Linked DNA regions of Homo sapiens: region 1 is linked to region 2. The links are contacts of gene promoters, found by promoter capture Hi-C in blood cells and fetal thymus (Javierre and others, 2016). All regions are on one chromosome and are shown on one strand. The core of a region is centred on a gene start or on the middle of the fragment in contact, and the rest is flanking DNA. Distances in the headings are between cores, read along the strand shown. Region 1 overlaps LOC105379193 (a long non-coding RNA gene). Region 2 holds the start of CTNNA1 (catenin alpha 1).

What was found. The method cuts DNA at HindIII sites, captures the fragments that hold promoters and counts their contacts. A CHiCAGO score of 5 or more calls a contact.
Region 1: a fragment that was not itself captured here is called in contact with the fragment with the promoter of CTNNA1 in region 2 in 7 of 17 cell types (M1 macrophages, megakaryocytes, M2 macrophages and 4 more); the score reaches 8.6 in M1 macrophages.

What each region holds. Positions count from the first base shown.
Region 1 is chr5:138,582,025-138,586,199 of GRCh38, forward strand. LOC105379193 (a long non-coding RNA gene) reads left to right here. Exons shown (of 3, transcript XR_001742900.1): 2 at 1,804-1,906; 3 at 2,771-3,065. Among named protein-coding and RNA genes, the nearest start is that of HSPA9, 8.7 kb to the left of the region's middle. The HindIII fragment of the contact is 9,043 bases long and covers 1-4,175 here.
Region 2 is chr5:138,752,079-138,756,128 of GRCh38, forward strand. It overlaps CTNNA1 (catenin alpha 1), which reads left to right and starts at 1,347. Exons shown (of 18, transcript NM_001903.5): 1 at 1,347-1,432. CTNNA1-AS1 (CTNNA1 antisense RNA 1) reads right to left here and starts at 1,846. Exons shown (of 2, transcript NR_134244.1): 1 at 1,445-1,846. RefSeq lists a silencer at 1,237-1,676 and enhancers at 1,380-1,947, 1,948-2,514. The HindIII fragment of the contact is 6,352 bases long and covers 1-3,639 here.

The DNA.
Region 1 (4,175 bases), core at 733-3,232, 170 kb before region 2:
CTATCTCCTGACCTCGTGATCCACCCGCCTCAGCCTCCCAAAGTGCTGGGATTACAGGCGTGAGCCACTGCGCCCAGCCGGAATTAGTGCCTTTACAAGAGGAAACAGGAAAGATGATCTCCCCTTCCCCATGAAGAGAGCCCACACCAGAACCCACCATGCTGGCACCCTCATCTCAGACTTTCAGCCTCGGGAAGTGTAAGGAAGAACTGTCTATTGTTTAAGCCATCCAGTCTACAATATTTTGTTGTAGCAGCCTGAGCTGACCAAGACAGTTTCTCAGTTTCCCCATTCCTGTTCCTCAACTGTCAAGAGAGGAAATACCCAGGTTTCCTTAGGAGATGAGAGTTTAATGGAAGACTAGTTGGGAAAGTAAAGCCATTGTCTCAATACCCATACAGCCAGAATGCTGGAAGAACAGGGACTTCTTAGTCAGGCTCCATCAGGAGCTGTAGCGGCCAGTTACCTGTTTTCTTCTTAGAAATGGATTTCTGGTGTTCTCATCTGCACTGACTCTGCCTTTTTCTAGCTCAGCCTTTTTATGTTAGCTTCTCTAATTCTTGTGCTGCAATGGTACCCAAACTTCAGTAGCAGTCAGAATTACTAGGTGGTTCTTTAAGCATGCAGAGCACTGGTATCCCACCTCTGGACATTCAGGTCTGAGATGGGTCGTGGAATCTGCATGTTTAATAGAGGGGGATTCTGTCGGTGGGGTGGAGATTAAGGACCACGTCTTTTTAGAAATAGCCCAAACTCTGTGGTGTCTTCTTGTCTCCAAATTTTTTCATTACATGTCCCTATTAGAAAAATATTGGCGCACATCCTCCCATTATGTGTATGTTCATGTATTTATAAACTACATATGTGTATATAGTACTATTATTACAAATACATAAAAATAGAAAACAAAAATGAAAGAGATAAAATAGAAATAGATTTAAATACTTCTTTCCTGTACCCCAAAGTATCCCTGGGGCTGCTTGTACCACCCTTGCTGCCTTCCTCTGTGTGGCTTGATTACATCATCCCATATGGAAAGCCTTGTCGGGCAGAGTAAAGGCCCAGAAAAGTGCCAAGGTGTCACATGGGTCACTGGTTTACCTTACAGGCCCAGCCTTTAGTTTAAGTGCCAATTGCTTGTTTTATTCAACTAGTGGTTGAGGGGTTGGGTGAGAGGGCTTGTGTGTGTGTGTGCCATGACCTGAAGCAAGCCAGTTTACCTGGAAGGATCGCTTTGACGAGTTCTTCAAGGGAAAAGGGGATCTGCTTGCATAAGGGTCTCATGAACACCTCTCTTCCATAAAAAAATGAACTGTTTCTTTTCTTTTTTTTTTTTTTTTTGAGACAAAGTCTTGCTCTGTTGCCCAGGCTGGAGTACAGTGGCACGACCAAGACTCACTGCATCCTCCACCTTCCAGGCTCAAACAATTCTTGTGCCTCAGCCTCCCAAGTAGCTGGGACTACAGGCATGCGTCACCATGCCCAGCTAATTTTTGTGTTTTTAGTAGAGACGGGGTTTCACCATGTTGGCCAGTCTGGTCTCTAACTCCTGAGCTCAGGTGATTCACCCGTCTTGGCCTCCCAAAGTGCTGGGATTACAGGCATGAGCCACTGCACCCTGCCAGAATAAACTGTTTCTAAGCGTGCCAATGGGTAGAAGCCGTGAATGAGGCCATCCTGCCTGTGCTCTGCAACTTTGCATGGCTTCCCAAAGGAAGTCTGCTCTGTCCTAGGTTGTGTTGGGTGTGTGCATTGGTGTACATGTGTATGGTACTGGCCCACTTCTCTCTCATTCCATTACAGCATGAATCCCTGGCCTGAACTGGGGAAGTCACTTTCAGGATTAAAGGCAGCCAACAGAACATCAGCACCCAGAGCCCTGGAGAACAGCATCTGTGTTTGAGTGGTAAAGTGTCAACAGGCCGCTTAAGGAGGAGTGGTAACTGAGTCCCTGAACCCAAATACAATTCTTCCCTGGGGTCTGTCTGTGCATCTATCTGCTCTCGAGTATAGTCCCAGTTGCCAAAGACGTTTCACTTTTTCTGGTGTGTAATCTGTGGTTCATTGATATTGTCCTCTTGTTCTAGGACACCATTTTGTGAGTGGAGTATCATTTTCACGAGTTAGAGTGACCACACTGGCACTAGAGCTCAAAGTCAGAACTGGGAGAATCCCAGACACATTTCAGAAATCAAGTTACTAAGTAAATAGCAAAGAGCAATCTCCCTAAAAGGTTTATTTAGTTATCAAATACGGAAGGGGGTTTCCTACCTTCTTTTTTTCGAGTACTTTTCCTCCTGCTACGTAAAGACATTTACATTTTCAGCTTTCTTCGGTGGACCTAGGTATCTGAGTGCTGGTGTTCTTTGAGAGTACTCAAAGGCCAGAGAGAGTAGAATGTTCTTTGGAGAGCTCTGCAGAGGAGGGAGGCGTGGGGTGCTTCTCAGATTCAGGGCAGTCAGCAGCCATGTGTATATATCTATTTCCTTATTGGTAGGGAAATTTGAAAATAGATTATTTAGGGTTTTATTGTTTTTCATTTAGCTTTATACCATTGAAAATCTCTAGGACTGAAACATCATTTTTTTCTATCATTTTGTGTTCTGCTTATTTTGTTTACTATTGTCTAAAGATTTCTGCATGTCAACCTGGTCCCATATACTTGTCATTTTTAATGGCTAGCTATATAATCTTATTCCATAAGCTACATAAGTTTATTCCACTGAATGCTCTGTTCTTCCAAGTTTTTATTTATTTTTTATTTTTTCAGGGTATAGGGAGAGAGAGGCTGCATTTCTAAAATATCTCTGAGAACAAGCTGCTTTTCAGAATTCAAATCAACATGTGATCTTCTTCACTTTAGGGGTATATGCAGGAAGCCATTAGACACAACCAGGTATTGAATTGTCTTCCCTGAAGTCCGTGTCTGTGGGTCTGGCTGGGCCACTTGATGAGAAATCTCAGCAAGAGGTCTCAGACACCAAACTGGGGAAAAAATTAAACTGACAGAGTGCTTGATATTTCCAAGAAGTCACTTAGGTTCTGTGTATTACCGCAGCATTCAAAAGGGGGACATAGTTCAGTGCTGTGATTAAAGTGACTTTTGCCGTTAGCCTCTTTGTTCATGTAAGATATAATGGTGGGTTATAGCCATTTCATCATTTGGGGGTGTAATGGTTAGCTAAAGCTATTTTTCTCCAAAGGGCCAGTTATTTCTGCAGTTTTTCTCTAAAACTTCAGCTTTAGTGGGTAGGAGCCATAAATTCTGTGACATAGCTGCCTTCTTATCTGTCTTGGGAGTTATAGATTACAGATATAAGACAATTCATGTACCTCTGCATAATGAGGTGAGTTTTATAAATCATAAATCTTCACTTAACATGCAGGTGGTGTTGGGTGCCAGGTTTAGAAAAACTGATGTAGTTGCCAAGTTCATGAATGTCATAAATCATTCATGCTAAGGTAGCCCAGAATCATGCTGTCCTCTGAGGCAGACCAATTTCAAGGTTGTTGTTAAACACAAAAATGTGAGTCTCAGTGATTTTTTTTCAAAATGAACTGCACTTTTTTTGAAGATTAAAACCAAATTACCTTTCTTTTTTAAGTTGAAGTCAGTTTCCTAAGACCCTCCCTTCACCCTCAAAGAATCTATCAGTAATAATATCTTTCCTTCCCTGATCCCTGAATTCTATCAGAAACACATCACAAAATACATAACCTGTACATTTGCAATCCAGATCTTTAATGTGCTGAAAATGAGATTCAGACGTTTCAATAAATCTTGAGGCACATTTTTCGGAAAAAAACCCCTGGAGTTTTGGGGGTTATTTTCTTCTTGTTCCATATTTTACATGAAGTTGCCACAGATTAAAGATATGCTGATCTTAGTAAGCAAGGGTAGCTCTCTTCCACACTGCCTCTTTGGGGCAAAGACAGGGAAAGAGTAGGGTCTAAAGAGTTGTGATCCCAGCCAGGTGTGGTGGCTCACGCCTGTAATCCCATCACTTTGGGAGGCCAAGGCGGGCAGATCATGAGGTCAGGAGATCGAGACTATCCTGGCCAACATGGTGAAACCCCATCTCTACTAAAAATACAAAAACTAGCTGGGTGTGATGGTGCGTGCCTGTAATCCCAGCTACTTGGGAGGCTGAGGCATGAGAACCACTTGAACCCGG
Region 2 (4,050 bases), core at 97-2,596:
GACATCGTCGTCTTGCATTATTCAGGTTTATAGGCCAATACTGAAATCTATCTTATTCATCATCCCGTGAGCAGGGGAAACATCATTAGGGTTTTCTATACCAGGATGATAGTGAGCATGTAGTAGTTTTTGTTTTTTTGTGTTGTTTGTTTGCTTTGTAATTTTGTTTTCTTTTGTTTTTGGAGTATTCACTATGAAGATAAGAAAGGGTAAGAATAAAATGCCCCAAATGACCAGAGGAATAGAGATAGAAGTCAGGTCCCTCAAATTTGTTGGAGGAGGGGGACAAGCTGGGAGGGGGGACGTGCTGGGGGCGGGGCGGGAACAAGCCCAAAAAGGGACAGCTGCTGCGGTGCCTCTTTTGTGTTTGTAAATGTCCTCCCCGCAAGGTGGCTCTAGCCTGTAATCCCAGCACTTTGGGAGGCTGAGGAGGATTTCTTGAGCCCATGAGTTTGAGACCAGCCTGGCAACATAGTGAGACTCTGTGTCTGTAGTTCCAGCTACTCCGGAGGCTGAGGTGGGAGGGTCGGTTGTCCAGGGATTTGAGGCTGCAGTGGGCCGTGATCGCGACACTCCACCCCAGCCTGGGCGACAGAGGGAGACCCCGTCTTAAAAAAAAAAAAAAGTCCTTGATCAAGAGGGCTTCGGGTGTTTCCATCTGTGGAGTGAGGGGACGGGTTAGGTGAATTCTAGGGGCGCTTCCACCTCACATTATGAAAGGTCCTGAGAGTCAGATTCTAGTTCCACTGTGTCCCGAAGCTGTGGGGCCTTTCCTTAGCCTCCGCTTCTCCTTCTGTAAAGCCAGGTAGTTGGCCTAGATCACTTTTCCAGAAGACTGTGACTCCGGGACACCTGTGACACTCTTGAGGGGAGCGTGCCCAGTACCCCTGGTCGCGTCTCTGGGATTCCGCCGGGGTGGGGGCCCGCGCGAGGCCGCCCCTGAGCCTCACCTGTGCGCGGAGCGGTGACTCACCTGCCCTCGCGCAGCCCTCTCCGCCCGCGGGCTGTTCCAGGAGTCACCGCTCCTCCTCCCTCTCAGGGGTCACTCCCGGCCTAAGCTCCCACTAGGGGCCGGGGAGGAAGGAATTCTGAGGTGGGCGGCGGGGAGGAAGAGGTCCCTCGGGGGTCCCGGTCCGGCGTTGCCAGACTCTCTTCGCGGTGGGGGCCTTCCCTTTCCCCAAAAGCGGAGGCCGGAACGGCCGGGAGGAGCGGGCGGGGCGGCGGCGGGAGGCGCCGGGAAGAGCGAGTCGGAGGGAGGTGCCAGGAAGGGCGGGCGGGGCCGGGACAGGGGCGGGGGCCGCGGGCGGGGGGCGGGCCGGGGGCGGGGGCGTGGGGCGGCCCATTTCCTCCTCCTAGCCGGACTGGAGGGAGACAAAGCAGCGCCCGTCTGCTTCGGGCCTCTGGAATTTAGCGCTCGCCCAGCTAGCCGCAGGTAACTTCGTACCTCCCTCCTCGCGGGCGCGGTCTCTCGGGCCAGGCCGAGAGGGTCCTTGGGCCGGGCCGTCCCAAGCTGGGCCCCGCGAGCCGCGGGCGGGCGAGCGGGCGGGGCGCGGTTTCTTTGGCGACGTCGCCGGGAATTGGGCCCCGGGCGGGCGTGGGACCCGCGTCGGGCCGGCGGTCCCTTCCCCCGCAGGGCCCGAGTATGGGGCCCGGGCGGGCACGGCCGGCGCTTCCCAGCGCTCGGGAAGTCGGGGGGCCGCCTGGGCTGGGGAGGAGAAACTATAGGCCCAGCGCCGCCGCCGCGTTTCCTCTTGGAAAAGTTTTCTCGCGGTTTCCAAACTTTGTTACCGCGGCCTCGGCGCGCGCGGCAGCCCCGCGCCGGGCCCCTCGGCCGCCTTCCTTCCCTGGGGCGGCTTGTCTGGGAGCCGCTTTCCCGGGAAGTGATTGTCGTCCGGCTCCGAGGCGTTCCTGCCCCCTCCCCCTTCCCGGCCGCTGAGACTTCCCGATGGGGCGGCGGGGACGCGGGCTCGGCGAACCGGGAGGCTGGAGCCCGGGCTTCTCCCATACAGCTTCGCCGTAGGTGGGCCACACCCGTGTGGACTTTTGGCGTGACCGTCCACTTGGACTCGGGGATTACTCAGCTTTCCTGGGTTTCTTGTCGGTTGGACGCACTTAGCTTTCAGCCCTAGTTTTCAGGAGTGGCATTAGAGAGGTTTTTTTTTTTTTTTAATTGTTGTTGACTTTTAAAGGAGCGTGTGTGTGCGTGCGAGTGTGAAGCACTTGTTGGAAAAAATGTTGCCTGAATGAATGCCTGACCTTTGCTTGGCAGCAGTGGCTTCCCAGTAATGCAGGCGGCGGTTGGCCCAGTTCCAAGGTTGACTCCCTCTTACGTCCTCTTGCATCTTGGTGACATTTTTTTGGTGCGTGTGTTTTGTACAGAATTTACAATTATTTGGAAAAGAGCGAGATATGTCAAGTCTACGACTAAATTCGGGGCATTTTATATTTATGATGAAGGAAATGCTTACATCATTGTTGGGACAGGATAGGCATTTTGTGGAGCGAATATTTGTGTTTAGTCAGCAGTGATTTTTAAATACTGGACAGGTGGGTGTTACTTTAAGGAACGGAATTTATAAATCGAATTAATTAGGATGTGTTATTTTGTTTTACAGGAAGAATGAAGAATGAGTGTAGGAGTTACCTATAGTTTCTGCCTAATTATTTACCAATCTGGACTTTTGAACAAACATTTTTTTTAAAGACGGGGTCTCCGTCGCCCGGGCTGGAGCGCAGTGACACGATCATGACTCACTGCGGCTTCTGTCTCCTGGGCTCAAGTGATCCCCCCACCTCGGCTTCCGAAGTAGTTGGGACTACAGGCACGCGCCACCACATCCGTCTAATTTTTGTATTTTTGGTAGAGATGGTGTCTCGCTGTCTTGCCCAAGCTGGTCTCGAACTCCTGGGCTCAAGTGGTCCTCCTGCCTCAGCCTCCCAAAGTGTTGTGATTACAGGCCTGAGCCAGGGTGCCTGACCCCATCTGGATATTTATTCAGCGAAAGAATAATTTTTTAATCCACCTAAGAGCTCACAGTGTAATAGGGGAGACACACACCCCAGGTGTAGTACAGAGCGGACTGCAGTAAGTGCCTTAACAGTACTAATGAAACTATTGTCTGAGTCAAATCTTACCTAATAGTAACAACAAAAGAAACTTGTAGAGGCACGGAGAGGGGGCTAATAAGTTTTACTTGGGTAAGTCCAGAAAGGCTTTCAGGAGGTGGTGGCATTTGATCTGGATGAAACATGAGTCGAGTTTTTTTTAAGTGAAGGGAGAAAGTCATGAGAAGCATAAAAGGGCATAGGAGTTTGGGGAATTGTGATATCACTCTCCTGGTTTTCTTTTCCTTTTGACTCATCTCAGTTTCTTTCTTTTCCTCGCCCTCACTCTTTCCTCTCGTACCCAGGGTTCTTTCCAAAGTATCTTTGTCCTCCACACCACTGATGTGGCATCACCTTCACTCCCATCAGTGATATCTCATTTCATATAGTGACTTAGAGATGAGAGGTACCCTCCTCCAAGATGAGAATCACTGCTCTGTGCAGTCTCTTCTGTCATCAGCCTTATGTGCTAAAAGTCCAAGCCTTTGAGTGCAGGTGTGTCTCCTGACCCACATGGTCACCTGTGCATTGGGAAGCTTTTTGGGTGTCCCAGGCTTCTCAAACTCAAGGTGTCCAAAGTGGGACTCCTGTCTCTTCTGGAGACATGAACCAGATGTGGAGATCCAGGGTAACTGCCCTGCCCGGGTTTTGGGATTTCCTTCTTTTTTTTTTTTTTTTTTTTTTTTTTTTTTTTTTTGATGGAGTCTCCCTGTGTTGCCCAGGCTGGGGTTCAGTGAGGTGATCTCAGTTCACTGCAAACTCCACCTCCTGGGGATTCAAGCGATTCTCCTGTCTCAGCCTCCGGAGTAGCTGGGATTACTAAGTGCAAGCTACCACGCCCGGCTTATTTATTTATTTATTTATTTATTTATTTTGAGATAGTCTTGCTGTGTCTCCCAGGCTGGAGTGCAGTGGCATAATTGCGGCTCACTGCAACCCGTGCCT